3 separate regions of the Homo sapiens genome follow, and all the other regions are linked to region 1. Evidence: promoter capture Hi-C in 16 types of primary human blood cells and fetal thymus (Javierre and others, 2016). All regions are on one chromosome and are shown on one strand. Each heading gives the region's core, a stretch centred on a gene start or on the middle of the fragment in contact. The rest is flanking DNA. Distances are from core to core; before and after follow the strand shown.

Region 1 (2,700 bases), core at 48-2,547:
TTTCTCCTAATACTGTTCTAGTTCAAATCCACCTACTGCTCAGTGGGGAATGGGAGGCTAAATTCTTAAGGCCATTCAGTCTACTTGGGGCGTGAGGGGGTGTGTAGAAAGCCAACAATCAAACGAACACCCTCTCAAGGCCTGGGTGCTTCTCTGAGAGCCAATGATTGCAAAATGAACAATCTTATTAAGATCCCTAATTAGCCCGAATTCAAAAGCAAGGTAGGCATGCTCCTTAGCTGAGCTAAGGATAAAACTTTCCAGGAAAAATTGAGGAGAAGAAGGTGGCAGGGATGATGGGGGCTGGGAGACTGCAAGGCCACAGGCTTGGTGGCTGGAAGATGACAACTATCCTAAAACATTCAAATGCCAAGGGGTGGAAGAGAAACGATGCCAAGTACATGAATAACCGGCAGCTGACCCAGCTGAGTACCAAACTCAACACCATCTCCTGAAGATTTCATGACTTCGCCCCCGCCCCCCATTCGCCCCCCACCCCCCTCGATTGTTAACATGAAAGAAAAACATAAAGAAAGAATACCTGTCACAGCAGGGCGCACCTTTCAACTAAGGAACTCCGGGTGGCTGTGTAGAACCATCCTCACCCTAGAAAGGGGGAAACTGAAAGAAAAAGCAGAACACGCCATTAACAAGGCCAGAACCCCGACTGCCATTCCTGGACGGGAGCCACCAACACCCGCAAAATCGATCGGTACGTACGCCCCGCGGCGCGGTCGGTAGGAATCACAGCCCCGGGCTCCTGAGGCCAACCGTGGCCGTCGGGGCCCGCCAGCGGCCTGTGCCTCAGTCTCCCAATCTGTAAATGGGGTGGGGGGCGGGAGGGGGACAGCGTCCCGCGCGGCTCCCGCCCCAAGTCCTCTCTCCTCTGGGGGTCCCGATGGTGGCGACCCCGCACGCTCCCCGGACTCGCAGCCCTCCCGGGAAGCCTCGGGGGATGGGGAAGCCCCGGTGGGGGGGGGAAACCCGGGCTGACGTCAGCGGGCTCGGCAACCCGCGGGCCCGGCCGGCTCGGGCCCGGGCAACTAACGGGCCGGCGCCGAGGGCCCGATGGTCGCCGCGGCGGCTCCGGACGCCCTGAGGCCAGGCGGCTGCGCCGAGGGGATCCGGCCGCCCGCCGGCCGCCAGCCGCCCGCTCATTCACTAACCTCGGGCGGCGGGGCGTCGCCCCTCGCCCCGGCTCCCCAGCCCGCGTCCCGGGCCGGCCCCGGCTCCCCACACCCACCGCCCTAGTATTTACCTCCGACGCGCGGCCCCCGCGCAGCCAAACCTGCTACCTGGGCCCGCCCCCACCTGCCCCGCCTCCGAACCGCACAGGGAAGAGGGAGGGAGCGGGGGCGGAGGGGGCAGCCGCCGCGCTAGCCAATCGTAGGCCGAGCTGCGCTCCTGAGCGGGCCGTGATTGGGCCTCCCTGTGACAGACCTTCCTCCAATGGCTGCCAGCCCGGCGCCGGCCGAAGGGACTTTCCGCTCTGTCAAGCTCGGTGGAACCAAAGGGAAAGCGAAGGGGCGGGGCAGAGAAGAGCGGCGGATGGAGGCGGGAAGCTCAAGCTGATTGGGCGAAAGGCTGTGGGTGCCGCGTCACCATTGGCTGATGCTGGAGCCGGGGCGGGGCGCTGCGCTGCCACCAGCTCCGCCTCCCGTGCTCCCGCCTCAGCTGTCAAAACTGTAGACGCTTAGGTTTGGGCTGGGTTAAGAGTCCAGATGAAGGTTGAAATAGGATTCCAGGATGCCGTGAGAGAGCAAAGCTTTAGAATCAGACCTCAGTTTGAATCTTTGGCGCTTTCATTCAGTGGCTGCGTGACCTGAGGAAGTCACAACCACGCTGAGCCTCAATGTCCTCATCTGTAAAATGGAGATCATAGTATCGGTTGTCTTACAGGATTGTGGCAAAATACCGAGCTAAAGTTCCTGGCACGCAGTACCAGCTCAGGAAAGGTTCATCTCTTCCTCCTCCGCAGATTCAGCCTGGGACGCTTGCTGTTTCCGAACCTCTGTTGCCACCTATCCCAGTTTGGAGGGAATTTTCCCAAGGATGGTGAAGAAGGGATTTCCACACGCCGCCTCACTCAGCCCCGCACCCCTGGCCACCAGCCAGGACTTAGGGTGTAGTTAAGGATCTTTCAATTAGAAGGGAGGCTTCTGATTCCCAAAAGCACTCAAAATATTTAAGGAAGTGCTTTTTATAATCAGTCCTAGAGCCTTGCTGCACTGGATACTCCTGTTAATTAATTTCTTCTCCTTTGACATTTTAAGTGCTAATTATAGGAGAAGGTGATTAACACTGAGAAAGGAGGAGGGGTGTGTGTGTGTGTGTGTGTGTGTGTGTGTGTGTTTTTAATCATGACACAAATTTCCCCCAGTGGAAAGTGACATGTTTCTGGAGATCCAGGGAATTTAAACCAATGAATACATAAAAACAGTCACATGAGTGATGACTAACAGTAGCAGTAGACAGGCCACCACTCTTCCTTGCCATAGTCATCCAAAATGAAATGAGCATCTTTTGAAAACCTAAGCCTCATTCTACTCCTGTCCCTCTTTTGTCACTCCTATCTTCCTGTTTTCCAGGCTTCATGACCACACTGCTGTAGGAAGCCATAAGTTGGAAATCAACGGGCCTGGCTTGAAGTGTGGCCTTAGGCAACACCGTTCTCATCTACATCTGGATTCTCCAACAAAG
Region 2 (2,700 bases), core at 183-2,682, 520 kb after region 1:
AAAATTCAACCAGAAAGCTGAAAAAAAATTGAGTGAAAGAAGCCTTACACAAGACTATATTCTATGTGGTTCCATTTGTATGAAATTCTGAAACAGGCAAAACTAACTATGGTGTTAAAAAGTCATAACAGCTGGGCTCACGCCTGTAATCCCAGCACTTTGGGAGGCTGAGGCGGGTGGATCTCTTGAGGTCAGGAATTCGAGACCAGCCTGGCCAACATGGTGAAACCCCATCTCTACTAAAAATACAAAAAATTAGCTGGGTGTGGTGGCACATGCCTGTAATCCTAGATACTCAGGAGGCTGAGGCAGGAGAATCGCTTGAACCCAGGAGGCGAAGGTTGAGGTGAGTGAAGATCATGCCATTACATTCCAGCCTGGGTGACAGAGCAAGACTCCGTCTCAAAAAAAAGAAAAGAAAAGAAAAGAAAAACGTTAAAGGCCAGGTGTGGTGGCTCATGCCTGTAATCCCAGCAATTTAGGAGGTTGAGGCGGGTGGATCACAAGATCAGGAGTTCAGGACCAGCCTGACCAACATGGTGAAACCCCGTCTCTACTAAAAATACAAAAAATTAGCTGGGTATGGTGGTACGCACCTGTAATCCCAGCTACTCAGGAGGTTGAGGCAGGAGAATCGTTTGAACATGGGAGGCGGAGGTTGCAGTGAGCCGAGATCATACCACTGCACTCCAGCCTGGGTGACAGAGGGAGATCCCGTCTCAAAAAAAAAAAAAAGGAAAAAACAATAAACAAATACTGGAGTCTGGCTACAAGGATGCACAAGCTACAGTACTCTAGGGGAACTGATGTCTGTAATCTACTTTGAAATGGATCAAAGAATAAGATGAATTAATGGATAGAGTGATGGATAGACAGGTATGACATAAGCAAGTAAAAGGTTAATAGCAGAATCTACTGGTGAGTACATGAATGCTCACTAAAATTTGTTCACTTTTACTATATGCTTGAACTTTTTCATAACAAAATGTTGAGAAAATGTACAAGCATGAAAGTTATTAAAATATCCCAGTAACATGTAAGCAAAGGAAGTAGCCTTAGCCTTCGAGACAGTGTTAACCCCAGCAAGAGAACGTGCATGCATCTGAGTTCAGAAGAGCCGAGGCTTTCATACTTACTACATCACTAGAGCTGGACTGTGTGGCAGAAGAGGACGACACTGGACCTGATGAAGAGTTTGAAGAGTGTTTACTAAGAGATTCCGAGGTTTTACTTCTACATTTTCCAAGGGCTTCATTTTCTTCAGATAGATTATTATTACATTTATCTAACTGCTGAGTATCTACTATCAAGGTAACACCATTTCCTGAAAGAGTGGCAAAAGATTGGAAAACGTTTCTTCCCATTAAACGCACACAACACAGAAAAGCCTCTAATACTCAGTCAATCGACCAAGGAAAATATCTTACCATTGCATGAAGGCTCAGGTCTATTCTTCAAGCCCCACTGCTTTGATATCCAATCTCTATATGTGGCAACTTCATCTGTTACTCTAATTATTCTACCTAGTATGCTGCATGTGTTTAAAAAGAAAGGGAGAGGGAGGGAATAACATTAATTTGAAGATAAGAAGCCACAACTAATTTTGACACAATGGGCTGGTTATAGATGAACTTTTACCTTTCTGTTTCATTGTTGGGATAGTACTTTGCTATTGGTGATACAGCATGACTCAAAACAACGTAGGCATAATCAAAGGCCTGCTTCACTTGCATGGCCCCATATGAACTCCTTCCAACATCGTTACCTTTAAAAGAAATATACGTAACATAGTAAGCCTGACTGTGCTTAATATGCACTAAATGTTGATGACTCTCTTCCAGGAGAGCAAGGGCCATAGTTATCCCACCAGAGTTGTGCCTGGAAGCTGAGCTGTGAGCTGTCCCCAAAGCTCCCCAGTCTCTGAATATGTGAATCATGCAGTTGGTACTTCATTATGGTGTATCAGTTGCCGGAATGTATTCTGGCCCATCAAGAATTATCCCATTCCATACATAAACAGTTATGCAAACAAAAGAAATAGTGCCCTGTTCACTCCTAAGAGTGAAACCCCAAGTTACATCAGAAATACTTCTATATTTTTTGGGTTTATATTAGCTATATATCTATTTCTCACTCTAAATTATGAGCCCCTAAAAAGCAAGGATCGTCTTGCTGAAAAGTCTTCGTGTCCTTTGGCCCAATACTTTTGAACAGAGCAGGCTCCCAATCAATGTAATGTTTCCTCAATGAATAAACACATAGAACTATTAATGTTTATAAGGCAGCTCAATAAGCCAGAAAATGGTTCCTAGGCAACTACTCTATCTCTTCACCCCCTTTCCTTACTCATTTTCAAAGTTTACACATTAAAGCAAATGACTAAAAGCACTTCCACTGAAGTCCAATAACGCAGAATCTATTTTACAATTATATCAAGAAAAAATATTGCTCACAAAAATCAGGACACAAGCAAGCAAACAGAACTTCAGAAAAGCATGGAAGGAATTTACTTTCTGCTTACTTTCAAGCCCACATGAAGCTGGAAAAAGCACAAAGAGACATGCAAAATCAAACAGGAAAGGAGAAATTCAAAAAGAAAATACATTGTCTCCTTGCACCCTTCTGCTCATGAATTCAAAGATATATTACTATGCTTGCTGCCTCTCAGGACTTCAGAATCATCTCATTAAAGCCTCATTA
Region 3 (2,700 bases), core at 123-2,622, 540 kb after region 1:
AAAAATTAGCCAGGCGTGATGGTGCACGCCTGTAATCCCAGCTACTCAAGAGGCTAAGGTGGGAGAATCGCTTGAGCCCGGAAGACAAAACTTGCAGTGGGCTGAGATTGTGCCTCTGTTCTCCAGCCTGGGCAACAGAGCAAGACTCCGTCTCAAAAAAATAAAAAAATTTTTAAAAAAGGAAAAGTGAACAAGATCCCTGTTCACAAAAGAAAAGTCATATAAAAGCAGTATGATAAAATGAGCACCACTATACAACGGGAAAGGATGCCAAAAAAAAAAAAAGAGAGAGCAAGAGAAACAAAATTAATTTGCTGGGGTAAAATTTACATTAAAATCTCAAAATTAATAACAGAACATTTAATATGACAAGGAGGTGTCCAAAAAACAGATTCCATATTTAAAAAATAAAACTCACAGGTAATTTAGGTTAAAAAAAAAAAACAAACTTCTGTTCTGAGGAAAGATCTGCTACAGAAAAGGAATCCAGCCTATCAAAATTATGTGAATTTTATAATGCTTGTCATGGGGTGGGAGGTTCAAGATCTTTGGCTGGAAAAGGAAGAACCATTTCGCATCCTTCAGCTGGACCACCCTGGGCACACTGTGAGTTGCTTAGTAGCTTCTGCATTCTCAAAACCAAAGGCAAGGTGGAAAGCTCCCTTGTGCCTTCTAGGCCAAGGGAGGCAGATGACCCACGGCCAGCCCCTCTGCTCAGCACCGTCCCCTGCGGCTCATCCATGTTTCTGTTCAGGGATGACACTGCTTCCCAAGAGATACCTGCCCAGACACAGCATGTCTGAGCCCACCTCCACATCAAGGTCCAGCTTTCCCAGTTCCATAACTGAAGTCAGACCTGTTTTATTACCAAATTCATCCCTTACATGAAGGAACTGACAAAGTTCTATTCGATAACTGTCAATAACAGGACATCCCTCCACCAAAACAAACTGTCAATAACAGGACATGCCCCCACCAAAAAAAAAAAAAAAAAAAAAATACATACATATATATTTATCTCTTAAGGTTCATGATATCCAATTTTGAAACAATATATTGAAAAGGCATTCATATGCATGTGGGGAAGTATAAATTACTACAATCTCTCCTGAGGTCATTCTACTAACAAACGATAATGTTTACACAAATAATTTTTAAAATTTCCCTTCTTTCCATCCTCCAGAAATATTTTCATGAGGGAACAAGGATATCTGTATAAGGATGCTCACCACAGGATTAATTAGGATACTAAAAAATTTAGAAATGATATCAATGTCCATCAACAGGATCCAATTAAATAACAACAGAAGCACCCATAAAGCACTTTCCCTTTATAGCCAATAACCTCTTAAAAAAATAAAGCTATATAAGCTGATAAAGATGTCAAATATGTTAAATTGGAAAGAAAAAGCATAAAAAATGTGTTCAGCAGAATCTCTTTTGTGTGCGTTAGACATGTGCAGGGGCAGAAGCAGTGGCTCACACCTGTAATCCCAGCACTTTGGGAGGCTGAGGCGGGTAGATCACTTGATGTCAGGAGTTTCAGACCAGCCTGGCCAACATGGCGAAACCCCATCTCTACTAAAAATACAAAAATTAGCTGGGTGTGGTGGCAGGCGCCTGTAATTCCAGCTACTCGGGAGGCTGAGGCATGAGAATCACTTGAACCCAGGAGGCAGAGATCACAGCAAGCTGAGATCATGCCACTGCACTCCAGCCTGGATAACAGAGCAAGACTCTGTCTCAAAAAAAAAAAAAAAAAAAAAAAAAAAAAAAAAAAAAAAAAAAAAAAAAAGACATGTAAACACATACACACAGAGGCAGACACACAAAATGTTCCTATTTGCATTGCAAGTTTTCTGGAAGGAGAACTGTTAACAGATATTACCTTAGGGACAGGGACTTTTGCCCAGTGGAGGGCACAGGCAGGAGAGTTAGGAAGACTTTAACTTATTTTTGTATCTTTCTGTACTATTATAATTTTTTTTAAAAAATCAGCATGTATTTGTCCACTTTTGAAACAGAGATTATTGTCTGCTTGATGAGATTATAGTCCAGGAGATTTGTTGTCACCTTTATATTTTCCCATGTGAAAAATATGGTTGTGAGTATGCATGTTCCACCCACTAACCAGCCCTCTGCCCGCCCCACACAGAACAGGGTCTATATACGATACTGTTAACAGTGATCACATCCGAAGAGGGACTGGGGGGGTCATTTTAAGAAAAATGCATACATGTTAATTACCACTGTATATTTTTAAAACAAGAACTTCATCATAAAAAAATTCATTAAAGAAAACACAAAGCAGAAACACTTAAATTACTCTAATAATCTAGCCTTGCAGACACACTTCGAAAGAGGGTGATATGGGCCGGCTGTGGAAGGAGCTCAGTGGTCAGCCTGTGGGCAATACTGACAGCTGGGGACACAGAAGACCTCCAAACCCAGGAATGCAGTGACAGCACACACCAGTACATTTTGCAAAGTTTCTGCATGCCCAGTGCAGTGTGTGTGGTGAGTTTCTGCTAGTGTCTGGCCCATCCTTTCTGGGATTATTTATATACTCAAACGCGTTGCAAGGCAAATTTCTGGAAGAATACACAAAAACTGCTAGCAGGACTTTCCTCTGGGGTGGAATAGAGGTCTGAATTTGCATGATTTTGTACTGTTTGATTTTCTTCAAGCCTGCCTAGACAC

The links. The method cuts DNA at HindIII sites, captures the fragments that hold promoters and counts their contacts. A CHiCAGO score of 5 or more calls a contact.
Region 2: a fragment that was not itself captured here is called in contact with the fragment with the promoter of CYLD in region 1 in 11 of 17 cell types (naive CD4 T cells, total CD4 T cells, monocytes and 8 more); the score reaches 10.8 in naive CD4 T cells.
Region 3: a fragment that was not itself captured here is called in contact with the fragment with the promoter of CYLD in region 1 in 13 of 17 cell types (naive B cells, naive CD4 T cells, naive CD8 T cells and 10 more); the score reaches 20.4 in naive B cells.

The regions. Positions count from the first base shown.
Region 1 is chr16:50,740,683-50,743,382 of GRCh38, reverse strand. It overlaps CYLD (CYLD lysine 63 deubiquitinase), which reads right to left and starts at 1,297. Exons shown (of 19, transcript NM_001378743.1): 1 at 1,259-1,297; 2 at 542-621. CYLD-AS1 (CYLD antisense RNA 1) reads left to right here and starts at 636. Exons shown (of 7, transcript NR_184279.1): 1 at 636-712; 2 at 1,979-2,055; 3 at 2,589-2,700. It overlaps MIR3181 (microRNA 3181), which reads right to left and starts at 1,078; the gene lies at 1,006-1,078. RefSeq lists an enhancer at 543-642 and a silencer at 883-1,482. The HindIII fragment of the contact is 2,791 bases long and covers 1-1,767 here.
Region 2 is chr16:50,223,722-50,226,421 of GRCh38, reverse strand. TENT4B (terminal nucleotidyltransferase 4B) reads right to left here. Exons shown (of 12, transcript NM_001365324.3): 8 at 1,639-1,765; 9 at 1,428-1,531; 10 at 1,137-1,324. Among named protein-coding and RNA genes, the nearest start is that of ADCY7, 41 kb to the left of the region's middle. The HindIII fragment of the contact is 8,159 bases long and covers 1-2,700 here.
Region 3 is chr16:50,204,654-50,207,353 of GRCh38, reverse strand. All of the region lies in intron 1 of TENT4B (terminal nucleotidyltransferase 4B), which reads right to left. Among named protein-coding and RNA genes, the nearest start is that of TENT4B, 53 kb to the right of the region's middle. The HindIII fragment of the contact is 6,724 bases long and covers 1-2,700 here.